Linked DNA regions of Homo sapiens: all the other regions are linked to region 2. The links are contacts of gene promoters, found by promoter capture Hi-C in blood cells and fetal thymus (Javierre and others, 2016). All regions are on one chromosome and are shown on one strand. Each heading gives the region's core, a stretch centred on a gene start or on the middle of the fragment in contact. The rest is flanking DNA. Distances are from core to core; before and after follow the strand shown.

Region 1 (3,915 bases), core at 259-2,758, 800 kb before region 2:
TACAATCTTTTAGTTATATTAAAATGTAAAATTAAGTTATTATTAACTATCATGCTGTTGTGCTATCAGATAGTAGGTCTTATTCATTCATTCTGTTTTTTTTATATATATATACATTAAGCAAGCATCCCCAACTCCTCCCAGCCCCTTACTAACTTTCCCAGCTTCTGGTAACATCCTTCTACTCTCTATTTTATGACCAATTTTAAATAAGAAAATCTTTCATGTTGTCCTTTGTTTGAAATTTCCCATAAGTAAATTTAAGGCAAAATTGGTAAAACTGTGTTTTCTATATGAGATGTGGCAAAAAATATATTGAATGAATGTTGCCACATGATTGTTAAAGTTTATAAAATGGTTCATGGAAAACCTTTAGTCCTTTGAGTCAGTATTTTTCAGTTAGTTTTTAAAGTAAGAATAGCCAAAGCAAATGAAAAATGGGATTTATAACTTAAAATCTAGTTGTCTTTATTTCTCTTATTTTATGTTGAATTTCATTGACTTTCTAGCAGAAAATTTTGAAACTAAATTAATTTTGAATAAATCCATATTTGAAAAAAGTTATTTTTTACATTTTATTTACATAAAAATACAATTAAGTGTTATACAGTAATAGATAGCTTTCTTACCAATAGGTATTTAAGTGCTTTATACAAATTAACTCATTTGCTTTTCACATCACTGGCATGAGTTAGGTACTATTAAATATTTTCGGCTGGGCACAGTGGCTCACGCTTATAATCCTAGCACTTTGGGAGGCTGAAGAGGGAGGATCACTTAAGGCCAGGAGTTCAAGACCAAACTGGGCAACATAGTGGGGCCCTGCCTCTACAATTTTTTTTTATTAGCTAGGTGTATTAGGCCATTTATGCCTTCCTATAAAGAAATACCCAAGACTAGGTAAAAGAAAAGAGGTTTAATTGGCTCATGGTTCTGCAGGCTTTACAGGAAGCATGGTACTGACATCTGCTTGGCTTCTAGAGAGGCCTCAGGAAACTTACAATCATGGCAGGAGGCGAAGCTGGCGCAGGCAAGTTGCAAGCAAAAGCAGGAGCAAGGGAGACAGAATGTGGTGGTGGTGGGGATATTGCCATACACTTTTAAATAACCAGATCTTGTGAGAACTCTATCTCCAAGACAGCACCAAGCCCTGATGGATCCCCCCTACCCCAATCATGATCCAAACACCTCCCAGCAGGCCCCACCTCCAGCATTGAGGATTAGAATTCCACATGAGATCTGGACAGGGACAAATATCCAAACTGTATCACTGAGTATGGTGGCATGCTCCTGCATTCCCAGCTACTCGGGAGGCTGAGTTGAGAGGAACTCATGAGACTGCAGTGAACTGTGATCATGCCACTGCACTCCAGGCTGGGTGATAAAGAGAAACCTTGTCTCAAAAACAAAAAAAAAAATTCTGACCCCACCAGATAAGAAAACTGAGACACAAAGAAGTAAAGTAGATTATCTAAAATTACACAGCTAGTAAATGATAGAGACAGGATTTGAAACTCAGCAGTCTATCTCTAGTGCCTAATTTTTAAATTACCTTATTCTTCTATTCTTCTACTTTTTAAATAAATATACATTTCATAATTAAGATTACTACTATTTTTATACTACATTAAAACTCTTTATGCTGAACAAATGTAATGATTTTGACATTTTTTCAAAATAAATTTATTGAGTACCTATATGTATAAGCGCTTTTTCAGCACTGAAATATTTCTGGGGATGTAGCAATAAACAAAATAAATGATTATCTTGACTTTTTCCACACAAAACAAACGACTCTCTTGACTTTAATATCATAGTGATATACATTTTCTCTATATATATGGAATTGGAATAAGTTATTTCTTTTATTAAATATTGAATAAAAATAAAAATAAATATAATGTTAACATGTAAGAGTAAATGATCATTTTTATATTCTTGTTCATGATGTATCTGTTTCTGTTTAGGAAAACTTTAATCTGAAAAAATATTTCTTTAATTTAAGCAATATATTTGCCAATTTATAAATTTCACATCATATATTCCTAAAAATTATCATGTAAATAGTAGAGATACTAAGAGTTTTTTTCCTTCTTTATTTTCTAGATAATACTGCTTTCTGGAAAATTGCCCACTAGTATTGTAAATATGAAAGATATGGAAATAATTTAACATTTTCACATAGGCTTGATTGCTGTGTCGTGGCTCATAGTGCTTGGAATAATTCTTGCTTTCAAATATTGTCTTTGAATCATTGGGAGGAAAAATAAAGTAAGAACTCTAGACATTTTGCTTATAAGAATCTTTTTCACTATTACCTATTCAGTGATTTTTTTTTTTTTTGGAGTCCACTAGATGGTGCTAGCTTACTTGTTAGTTTTGAAGGGCAACACAATGCTTAGTGTAAAGCTGAAAGGGATCTTAGGTATCTCGCCAGTCTAGGCTGCTTAGTTTACAGATGAAAAAACACCCACATAGTTTTCATCTAACTCATGGCAGAGGTAGGGCTGGGATCCAAGTTTCCTGATTCCTGTTTCAGTATTACTCTTTCTATACAACATGTATAATCCTGAAGTACTTTTGCACTAAAATTAAAAAGTCTCAAGTGCAACTTTGTATATTTGTATGTGTGAATGAAAAACCATCAGACATGGCAATCAGTGAACAGCTGAAGGAGGTTGATCTTCAGTGAAAAACCTCCAGCCTAATTTAACATTTTTAATTTTGCTGTTCCTTACAGAATTTTCTCCCCTGTGGCAGGAATGTTTTATTAGACCATTGGCTCATTTCTGTGGGAAGAATTATTTGAAATAGATATTTGTAGAAAGTATGGCCAAAAGTTAATTTTGCCATGGGCATGAGCCCTTTGAAGAGTAAACACACTTGACTTAAGTTTTATTTTGTGAGATCTAGGAAACTTTAAAAGAGCTGTTAAAAGAATATATTTAACCAGTAAGCTAAACAATATTTAAGCAAGTCTTTATTTGTATTATATTTAAGTCCTTTGAAAAGGCTCTTTAATATTTTTGTGGCTATTGTTTGTTTTATTTTGAATAGGGCAGGGGAAGAAATATTGGATATTTTATCTGGGAAAGAATAATTTTCTTAGAGGTGTTAAGGAATTAATGGTATCCTAAGATAGGACTTGCTATAAGTTTATTTTACTCAGTTGTCAGCCTTTATTTGACATTAAAGAATTTGTAAAATTAGGACAGGCATGGTGGCTTACACCTGTAATCACAGCACATGGTGGCTTACACCTGTATTCACAGCACTTTGGGAGGCCAAGCTGGGCAGATGGCTTGAGCTCACGAGTTGGAGACCAGCCTGGGCAACATAGTGAGACCTCATTTCTACTAAAAATAAAAAAATAAAATAAACAAAAAATAAGCCAGGTGGGCTGGTGCATGCTTGTAGCTCCAGCTACTTGGGAGGCTGAGATGGGAGAATCACTTGAGCTTGGGGGATCAAGGCTGTAGTAAGCCGAGATCACACCAATGCACTCCAACCTGGGCACCAGAACGAGACCCTGTCTCAAAAAAAAAAAAAATTGATTAAAGACAAAGGGTAGCAACTTACTCTAACTTCATTTACATCTAGAACCCGCCCACCCCTTCCATCCAAGTGCATTTATGGAATCGATTACTGTTTAATCAGTTGTGAATAGAGTTTTTGGAATGTATATTAATATTGTTTCTCCTTTAATGTTTGACTCAAAATTCAGCCCTCTCTGAAGCCTTATTTGGTCACCACAAATTTATAGTTTTAAACTCCTTGTTTTATTAAGAATAATTATTGGGAAATAATAATAGCTATCATTTTTAGTAGCTATCTTGTGAAAATCCTGTATAATATTATTTTTAATCCTCATAATGAGGTGAAGTTACCCTCACTCTATAAATAAAAAAGCTAAAG
Region 2 (4,011 bases), core at 968-3,467:
TATTGGTTTATGTGTAGCTTGAAGGCATTAGATTAGAGCAAGAAACAAAAAGCCTAACACATTAAAGAAAATACCAATTAGAGGTCAAAGTTTATCTACATCATAATTTTACCAAAGTTATACATCTTTTTTCCCCAAAAGAAAAGTAGCATATAGCATCTATTTGAATTTGAATTATTTGACATAACTTAATGTTTCCCCTATTCTTGAATATTTATCACATATCTCAATTTTCACATTAACAACTAATATCCATGTTATATATTTAAAATGAATTTCCATTAATTCTTCTCCCCCTTTTTTCTAATTAATTAGGGATCAATTTTGTCAACATATTGAAGAAATCATCTGAGGAAAATAAGAATCACATTTCCTTTTTACTATTAGACTGCTATCACACATTTTAAAAGATCATTCTTTGTATTTGCAATTCAAAAGCAGAGAAAACAACTAATTTAATTATCATGCAAAGTATATATAATTTTCCCGATTTGTTAATCAAAGTGGCTTTAAGAGGATTCTGTCACAAAGATGCTCTGATAGTAACAGGAAAGTAAGCACAAATCCTCACTGAGACTCTGTTAAGTGAAAACCAAGTGTTTCAAGCTTCCATTGCTCCCCCTAATGGTAGGAAAGCAGAAAACATCTAGACGTATGTATTTCACATTTGTCAACTAAATACTTTACAGAAACCTTCCTCCATGTGAGTATGTTCAATATTGTGTTTTATGTAAGTTCAGAAAACAAACTAAAAGTAATAAATATATCAGTTATTATTAAATTTCTGGTATTATATGAAAGACTCCTTGCTATTCTAAGTAATTATTAAATGTTTGGATTTAATCGCTTTGCTTAAGTTTTGGGTAAAGGTGAAAAAGTTAAACTCATAGATTGTATAATATAAATCAATTATCTATAGGAACCAATCCTATTTTTTCTCAACTGTTACTACATGATTGATTTATTTAAAAATTAAACAAGACTCAGACAACTTTACATTCAAATATTCACATCTCTAACAGCACTGACTTGTCAAATTACCCCATGTATCTTGAAATGCTTACTACAAGAAGAAAGTTTTACTCTAAAAGGCATTTTGAACAATTTTCTTTTGAGAACTCAGACAAAGAATGGGTATCAGTGTAACTCATGAAATACATGAAGACTATCATAGAAAAGTGACTTTGGTGAATGGTGGTTATTTAGGATTGTCTCCTTTCCAAAAGTACAATCTCTTTTTTTATGGTGAAAAGAGTATTATAACAGGGAAAGAAAGCCGATGCAATAGTAAAAACTGTTGAGAAGGGAATTATACAAAGAGTGAGACATGGCATCAAGAATGAATTCAAAAAGAGCAGAAAAATATAGGCATAAAAAGAGATAATGTACAGAAAAAAAGTCAGTGATACAACAACACAAATTTTTACCTGCTAGAATGTAAGTAATTTAGAGCTGGATTTTATAAACATGAAATTGTTTTTCTAATACATTCAACCAAAAGTCAGCACACATAGTTCAGTCATCTCTCATTACTTACAATAAAATATTTTCTATTTGTTAGGAAATAATATCTTATTCCCTGGATCTATTATTTCTTTTTATTGATTTTCTTTCTATTCTCTAAACTTAATTGCTTAATTTTTATAACTGATTCTCTGTCTCTATTCCATCTTATTCCAGCATGGATTATTTAAAACCTGTATTAGTTTTGGAACCACTAAACATTTGCTCAGAAGTTTGAATTACCAGAGAAGCACCCTAACTCTTCAAGAACTTCCAAGCCTAAGGAATCACTGATTTCATGCATTCATCCTGGAGATTTTCCTTAAAAATTAGAAATAACAGATCTCATGTTTCACAAAATCAAAATGACAACTTTTGGAGTGGGGGAATGAGAAGTGGGAAAAGGATGATACTGGGGGTTCTTTGTCAGTATGCTGTATGTATGCTGTATGTCAGTGCAGTTGAATGACTCCTTCTGTGCGTCAGAAATCCAAAGCAGCAGCAGCAGCAATTAGGGAAGATCGTCACTTTCACTCAAGGTTCAGAAATGGGGGAGGAGAGCAGGGGGGACAAAGGAAAAGGGGAGGAGAAAGCAGGGCAAAGAGGGGAGGGATGGAGGTGAAGATAGGGCACATCCTGCAAAGATAATGTCTGTACAATCAATGACATCATCCTCCTGCTTATATATATAGGGGAATGGCCAGAGCACCTCTCATAGTTCACTCACTTTCAAAGCCAGCTGAAGGAAAGAGGAAGTGCTAGAGAGAGCCCCCTTCAGTGTGCTTCTGACTTTTACGGACTTGGCTTGTTAGAAGGCTGAAAGATGATGGCAGGAATGAAAATCCAGCTTGTATGCATGCTACTCCTGGCTTTCAGCTCCTGGAGTCTGTGCTCAGGTAAGCAAAACAGAATTTCACAACTCCCTGAAGTGATTTCTTTTTTCTCTTTTGCAGTGTGTTGCTACTTATGTTAATGTATCTGGGGAGAAGAGTTGCTCCCTTTTATTCAGGATTTACCTTTTAGTGACAGAAACTGAGTATCTCTTTCTCTGCCTTTATGATTACTGAGAGATGTATTTTCTCTTTTAAAATCTGCAAAGCAATAAAAGGGATTTCAATGAAACACTGCACGACCTCCTTTGGAATTCAACAACTAGAGGGAAAAAAACCCTACAAAACTTTCAATTAGGCTGATCATTATCTAATGAGAAATACAGAGGCAGTGGCTGTCAACCTGCAAACCCATCATTAAATCCCATTCCATTCAAAATGTTTTACTCTCATCCTCATTCATTCTCTTAGGAAGCGGTGGCCCTCACGCCCTTGTAATAGTCCCCGTATTATTTTCTTGTTTGTGTTAAGATAACAAATAAAGTGAAAATTGATACTTAGTGAAAAATGAAGCATTATTTGTAGAAAATTATTTCTAGAAAAATACAAAAATATTCCAGATCCTTTTTGAGAACAGAATTTGCATAGTCTAATAAGTGTGCTATTAATATAACTGTTTGGCATTTTTTCCATGCCATTTAAGTTAATACAAAATACAATTGGAAAATTGGTATTCTTATATTGATGGAAATTATTTGACTTTAGAGTGTTTTGCATGTGGTTTGAAAGAAGTTATATAGTCCTAAGTATCTACGAATAACTCACTTTGAAAATAAGACTTAAATTGAAAGGTATAACATGAAATATTACAACCATTGCAAAAGGCTCTACTTAATATTTAAGAAATATTACAATGAACACTTCAAAGGGAAAAGAACACATTAGGAAGCAAATGCAGCAAAAATAATTTAACCTGTTCTGTGCTTTTATGTATCATAAATATGACATGGAAATGTTTAACTCAAACTCATGCTATCATTTGATTTAAATTATGAAATTAAAATCTAAGAAGATATAAATGTGATTTATACAAAATTTTAAATTTATTTTAATCATCAGAACATAACTTTCAGCTTCTACTTTTTAAATCTTATGAGAAAAAACAAACTTTTCTATAATTATGATTTTATCTGAAAGTTATATGAGATTAAAGATTCACATACTTCTGGAAGAAAAACTGGGTTATTGATTAAGCACTGTGTTTATTAACTTGAAACTACTTGTTGTAATAATGCAATAGTTATAAGGATTTTGGTATACATTGTTCATAAATTCCTAAAACAGATTATGTCTCTAACAAATAGTGAGAAAAGATCTCTTGTATAATTTAGGTTCTAGGTAAAATTAAGCCAATGGGTTCTCCAATTGTGGCATTTCTTTTTACTGAGTGTGTAGTACAAGGAAGATAGAGTCATTTTTAACTTTATTTTTATTATTGTATAGTATTTTCCAAATTTTCCTTCTCTGTAAAATATTCATTAACAGAAACTTGGATAGAGTTTTTTAAAAATCCAGAGATCCATTTTCAATGCTGTTGTACATGTGTTGTTGAACAGCTCCACTTTTGCTTTAAACAATTTCCTTAAATGCCTATGAAAAAATTGAGGATACATAATTT
Region 3 (4,330 bases), core at 564-3,063, 990 kb before region 2:
CTGTTACTCCACTTAGTATGTTCTAATCATCATTACAATATGTTGCAATATGGTTGTACAATAATATAATACTAAAACATATTGCACATTAAGATAAAACTTATAGGAATTTAAGTTTTTCTTCTTGTACACAATTCATTCATTGAATTGTGGGTTCCATGAGGACAGACTGTGGCCTATTACTCTTTGCATATCCATCAGTGCCTGACAAATAGCAGATATTCAAATATATTGTTCATTGAGAGAGGATTTACAGGAATTTGAGTTTTTCTTCCTGCACACAATTCCTAAAATTGCAAGCTTATGGTTATTCTGCAGTATTTTGAAAATTATATTCTAATTATATGTCCAGACATTTCAATTTTCATTTATTAATTCAACAAACATTTAAATTCTTAAGGACACTGATCTGGATTCAGTAAGACTCTAACACAGTTTCCTAATAAGTTACAAGAACATTTCAAGCCTACAAGATGGAGAAAAATAAGTCAATATTTCAAACATTTAAGTGATATTAAGAAGGCAACACATCAATTTTATTCCTCTGTGAGCAGGTAAGAGGACAAAATATTTCATTTTTAAATTCCATGATTTAAAAAGATGTGTCTTAGGAGTCAGCAGGTTACTTAAATATCTGTGTCATTTATAAACACAAATTATTTGCATTCACTCATATGGCTCTAATCTTATTAGACCAAAACAGCCACTTGCATAATATTATTAAAATGAGTTAAATTCAACCTATTCACTGTATTTATACCAACCACTTTCTTCTCTCCATGCGTTACGTCTTATAACTTGAAGTTATTTTATAAATTTGTTTATTGTTTGCTGCCTCTGCCACTAAATGGAAACTCCATGAGGACAGGCACATTGTTTACCTTGTTAGTTGTATTTCCAAAACTAGATCAGTGTCTAGAACATAGTAAGTGCTTAATAAATATTTGCTCAAAATAATAATGAATGGGTGAATGATTATTACACATTGTCCAAGAAGTATACATTTTTAAAACTGGGAAATGATACAAAGAAACATGCTCCTTTGACTGATTTTTAAGACCCCTCCCCCGGGCCTTGACAACTATTATGCCTGTCAAAGCAAGTACGTTAGTAAGAGAGACTATTTTATCTTTCAAAAGATTGTATAAAACATTTTCATTTTACTAAAGTGTTTAAAAAATCGAAAACAAAAACCATTGTTTTACATATGAAAAATGTTTATTATAAACATACCTTCAGAATGTATCATTCTTTTTGAAAATTCTGTAGCCCAGTTTTAGCCCTGTCTATCATGTATTGGTTGCTTAATTCTGGCCAACTATTTATTTTCCCTGAGCTTGTCAACTTTGCAGTAAAATGGGGATAAAATATGCAAATTATCTAGCTGATAGAAAGAATAAACAAGATAATGTATGCATAGTATTTAGCATAGTAGTAGTAACAACAGGAAAGTAGTCAGAGTAGAAAATACTACCTTAGAGTTAAAAGCAAGCTTGGGGCTTCTCATTTCTGTCCTACATATTTGAGACAGTCATCCCCTTAATAGATTCTGTAACTAGGGCACATGCTACCTCTGTGTGACCACCTCCAGTGATGCTGAGCTCTCTACCATTGAGGCAACTGATTTCATTATTATCAAGTTTGATTCTTGAAAGGCCTTTCTTTCTTTGAAGGCTTACCACCATCACAACCTCCTCCATAATACCCACTATTTGATCATAGTTTTGCTCTCTATGGCCACACAAAGCAGCCCTATTCTTCTTTTGGTTTAACTATTTGAAGACTTTGATCACTGAGCTGAAATTTCTCATAATAAAAAGGAAAATACAAGATTTCAGTAAAATCCAGTATTGCAGATGTGGTCCAACTGATATGTGCCTACCTAGCCCAAAGGACAATGTCCCTATCATACCCCTCTTTTAATTCATGCAGTTTCCACTTAGCATTTTGGGGTATATGTATATGCATGTATGACTGTGTGTTTTGACCAAGCACATCACCAGCTGACTCATTCTTCTTTTAGCTGCTAAATCCTCTAAGTTGTTTTTCCATGTGCTAGCCTTAAACAATATTTCTCTCTTCTGTACTTGTGACACTGTTTATTTGGAGGCATTTTCTGTTTAGTAGGTAAACACAAAGCTTAACCTTTAATTCCTCATAAAGTCATTGTTATTATATTTAACTCATTGTTTCAGATTGAGGAATTGTGACAATTTTGGCTTCCACATCTTTGCTCACATTACCTACAGCTAGCTTTCTCCCCATCAGTGCCTGTTAAATTCTTTCTTCAAATATTGCCCAAATACTAGTCTTTTCCTGAGGCATTCTCATTAAAATAATAAATGTATGTACTAAATAAATTGTATTACATTTTCTATATAAATTTACACTACATGACATGAGAAGAACAACCCCAAGATTCTGTGATAAGAAAAGGATGAATAGTTCTTTAAGTGATGCTAAGACACAGACTAAGAAGAAACAGAAACAAAACGTGGTAGTAAGAGAACCTGAGTACAAGAGTTTTTGAGCTTCTCTGGATGACCACAGTTGGTTTTCTTTCTACCAAATGATATTATGTTAGGAATCATATAAATATGGTTAGGTCTTATTTAAGAATCCACTCCTTCATTTATAATGTGACGGGAATGTGGCTCTGACATAGTGGAAGACATACACAATTGAACAATTCGAAGTTATTTAGTCATATAATACAATAACATTGCCAAAGACTTAAAGATATTTAGATGTGTTAACAAGTATATTCACAAATTCAAAAGACAAAATGATACAGAGTTTCCTTCAGGAAGATAAATGTAAAATCAGCTACAATTTACAAGTTAAAAAGTCACTAAAATTTTTAATTAAATATAAAGTAACAGGAAGCAAAGATGAATTAGACAGACTTCTGCCCTAAAAGAGTTGACTAATTGGTGGGACTAGGACGGGGTGAGACATTATAGTGTTGCAGTTAAAGAACATGGGCTCTAGATTTAGACAGACTTGCATTTGACTCCAAATACTAGAACTTAATAGCCACGAAACTTTGGATAAGTTAAACTAATTCCTCAAACCTGTTTATTTTAAATCTGTAAAATGGTTCTGAAAATAAAAATTACTTCTCAAGAGTGGTTTTTATAATTAAATGGGATAAAGTATAAAAAGTAGTTATCACAGTACCCAAAGCAAAATACATTTGTAATAAATAATTGGCTTCAATTACTGTTCTTACCCTAATTCTTGTCAGAAACATCTTTATCATCATTTATTATTATTGTTATTATGACTACTTCTACTATTGCTGCTGCTACTACTACTACTATTGCCATTCCTGCTAGTATATGATGATGAGTGGTAATAAGTTAGCCTGAAATCAGTTATACTTTGAAAAGGAAAATAGCACAGCTGGACAGTTAAACGGCAGAGAGAAGAGCCAACAGTAAATTCTTGCTATGATCCAGCCAAGAGATGTGGAGAGCTTTAGAACAATGGCTGTGATAATGAAAAAAAAAAAAAAAAAGTAATACGAAAGCAAAATAGTGAATAGCAATTACTTTCCTAGAGCGTCCTTTAAAAATAATAACAAACAAGCTACCTAGAATTCACTTAATGTCTTTTTAAACCACAACCATTCTAATTTTCAATTTGCCTTAGAAGGAATGATATTTAGTCTTTTACATTACTCTGAATTCCTTGTTGGAATTATTATTAACTACTTAATGATGTTCAGAGCTTTAAGAAACACTTCACATTACATTATTTCAAAATGTCTTATGCAGCTATTCCTTAGAACACCTACAGCAGAGAGAAACAAATGATATCAAACAAACAAAATGAATGAATTACTCATTTTACCACTTTCCCCAATTTCCATAATTTAACTAATTGGTAATTAGAGAACTGAAACATTAGGACTAATTGAATAAAGGGCAAAAAGAAAGGACTTTTAAGTATTCACAAAAATTTTAAAGATCTTGTTGAAATAAGGAAAGATTATAATTAACCTTAGATTTCACTATAAAACACTGTTTTTATTTGTCTTTTTAAAAATGTAAGCACACTTTTGAAGTGTCACTTTTCACTAATATTTAACTACCTAGAATGAAGTGTTATGTGTGATTTGCCCACAGAAATCTGTAACAGAATTTGAGAGAGGGATGAATCCAGAAATGGTGATTAGCAGAATGAGGAAGGGCTCTAACATACTAACTTTTCCAGAAGACTGAATGCCTTTGATCATAGCCAAGCAAACCATGACCCAGGCAGCCAACAAGCAGATGGTCATCTTCCAGTTTAAGCCCCCACTTTCAGAAATGGAACTTGAAATATT

Evidence for each region. The method cuts DNA at HindIII sites, captures the fragments that hold promoters and counts their contacts. A CHiCAGO score of 5 or more calls a contact.
Region 1: a contact is called between a fragment that was not itself captured here and the fragment with the promoter of NTS in region 2, in 1 of 17 cell types (total B cells). The highest score is 7.2, in total B cells.
Region 3: a fragment that was not itself captured here is called in contact with the fragment with the promoter of NTS in region 2 in 1 of 17 cell types (naive B cells); the score reaches 7.7 in naive B cells.

What each region holds. Positions count from the first base shown.
Region 1 is chr12:85,074,452-85,078,366 of GRCh38, forward strand. All of the region lies in intron 11 of LRRIQ1 (leucine rich repeats and IQ motif containing 1), which reads left to right. Among named protein-coding and RNA genes, the nearest start is that of LRRIQ1, 40 kb to the left of the region's middle. The HindIII fragment of the contact is 5,447 bases long and covers 1-3,915 here.
Region 2 is chr12:85,872,078-85,876,088 of GRCh38, forward strand. NTS (neurotensin) reads left to right here and starts at 2,218. Exons shown (of 4, transcript NM_006183.5): 1 at 2,218-2,399. The coding sequence starts at 2,327. The HindIII fragment of the contact is 11,906 bases long and covers 605-4,011 here.
Region 3 is chr12:84,879,649-84,883,978 of GRCh38, forward strand. It overlaps SLC6A15 (solute carrier family 6 member 15), which reads right to left. Exons shown (of 12, transcript NM_182767.6): 5 at 4,211-4,330. Among named protein-coding and RNA genes, the nearest start is that of SLC6A15, 31 kb to the right of the region's middle. The HindIII fragment of the contact is 647 bases long and covers 1,491-2,137 here.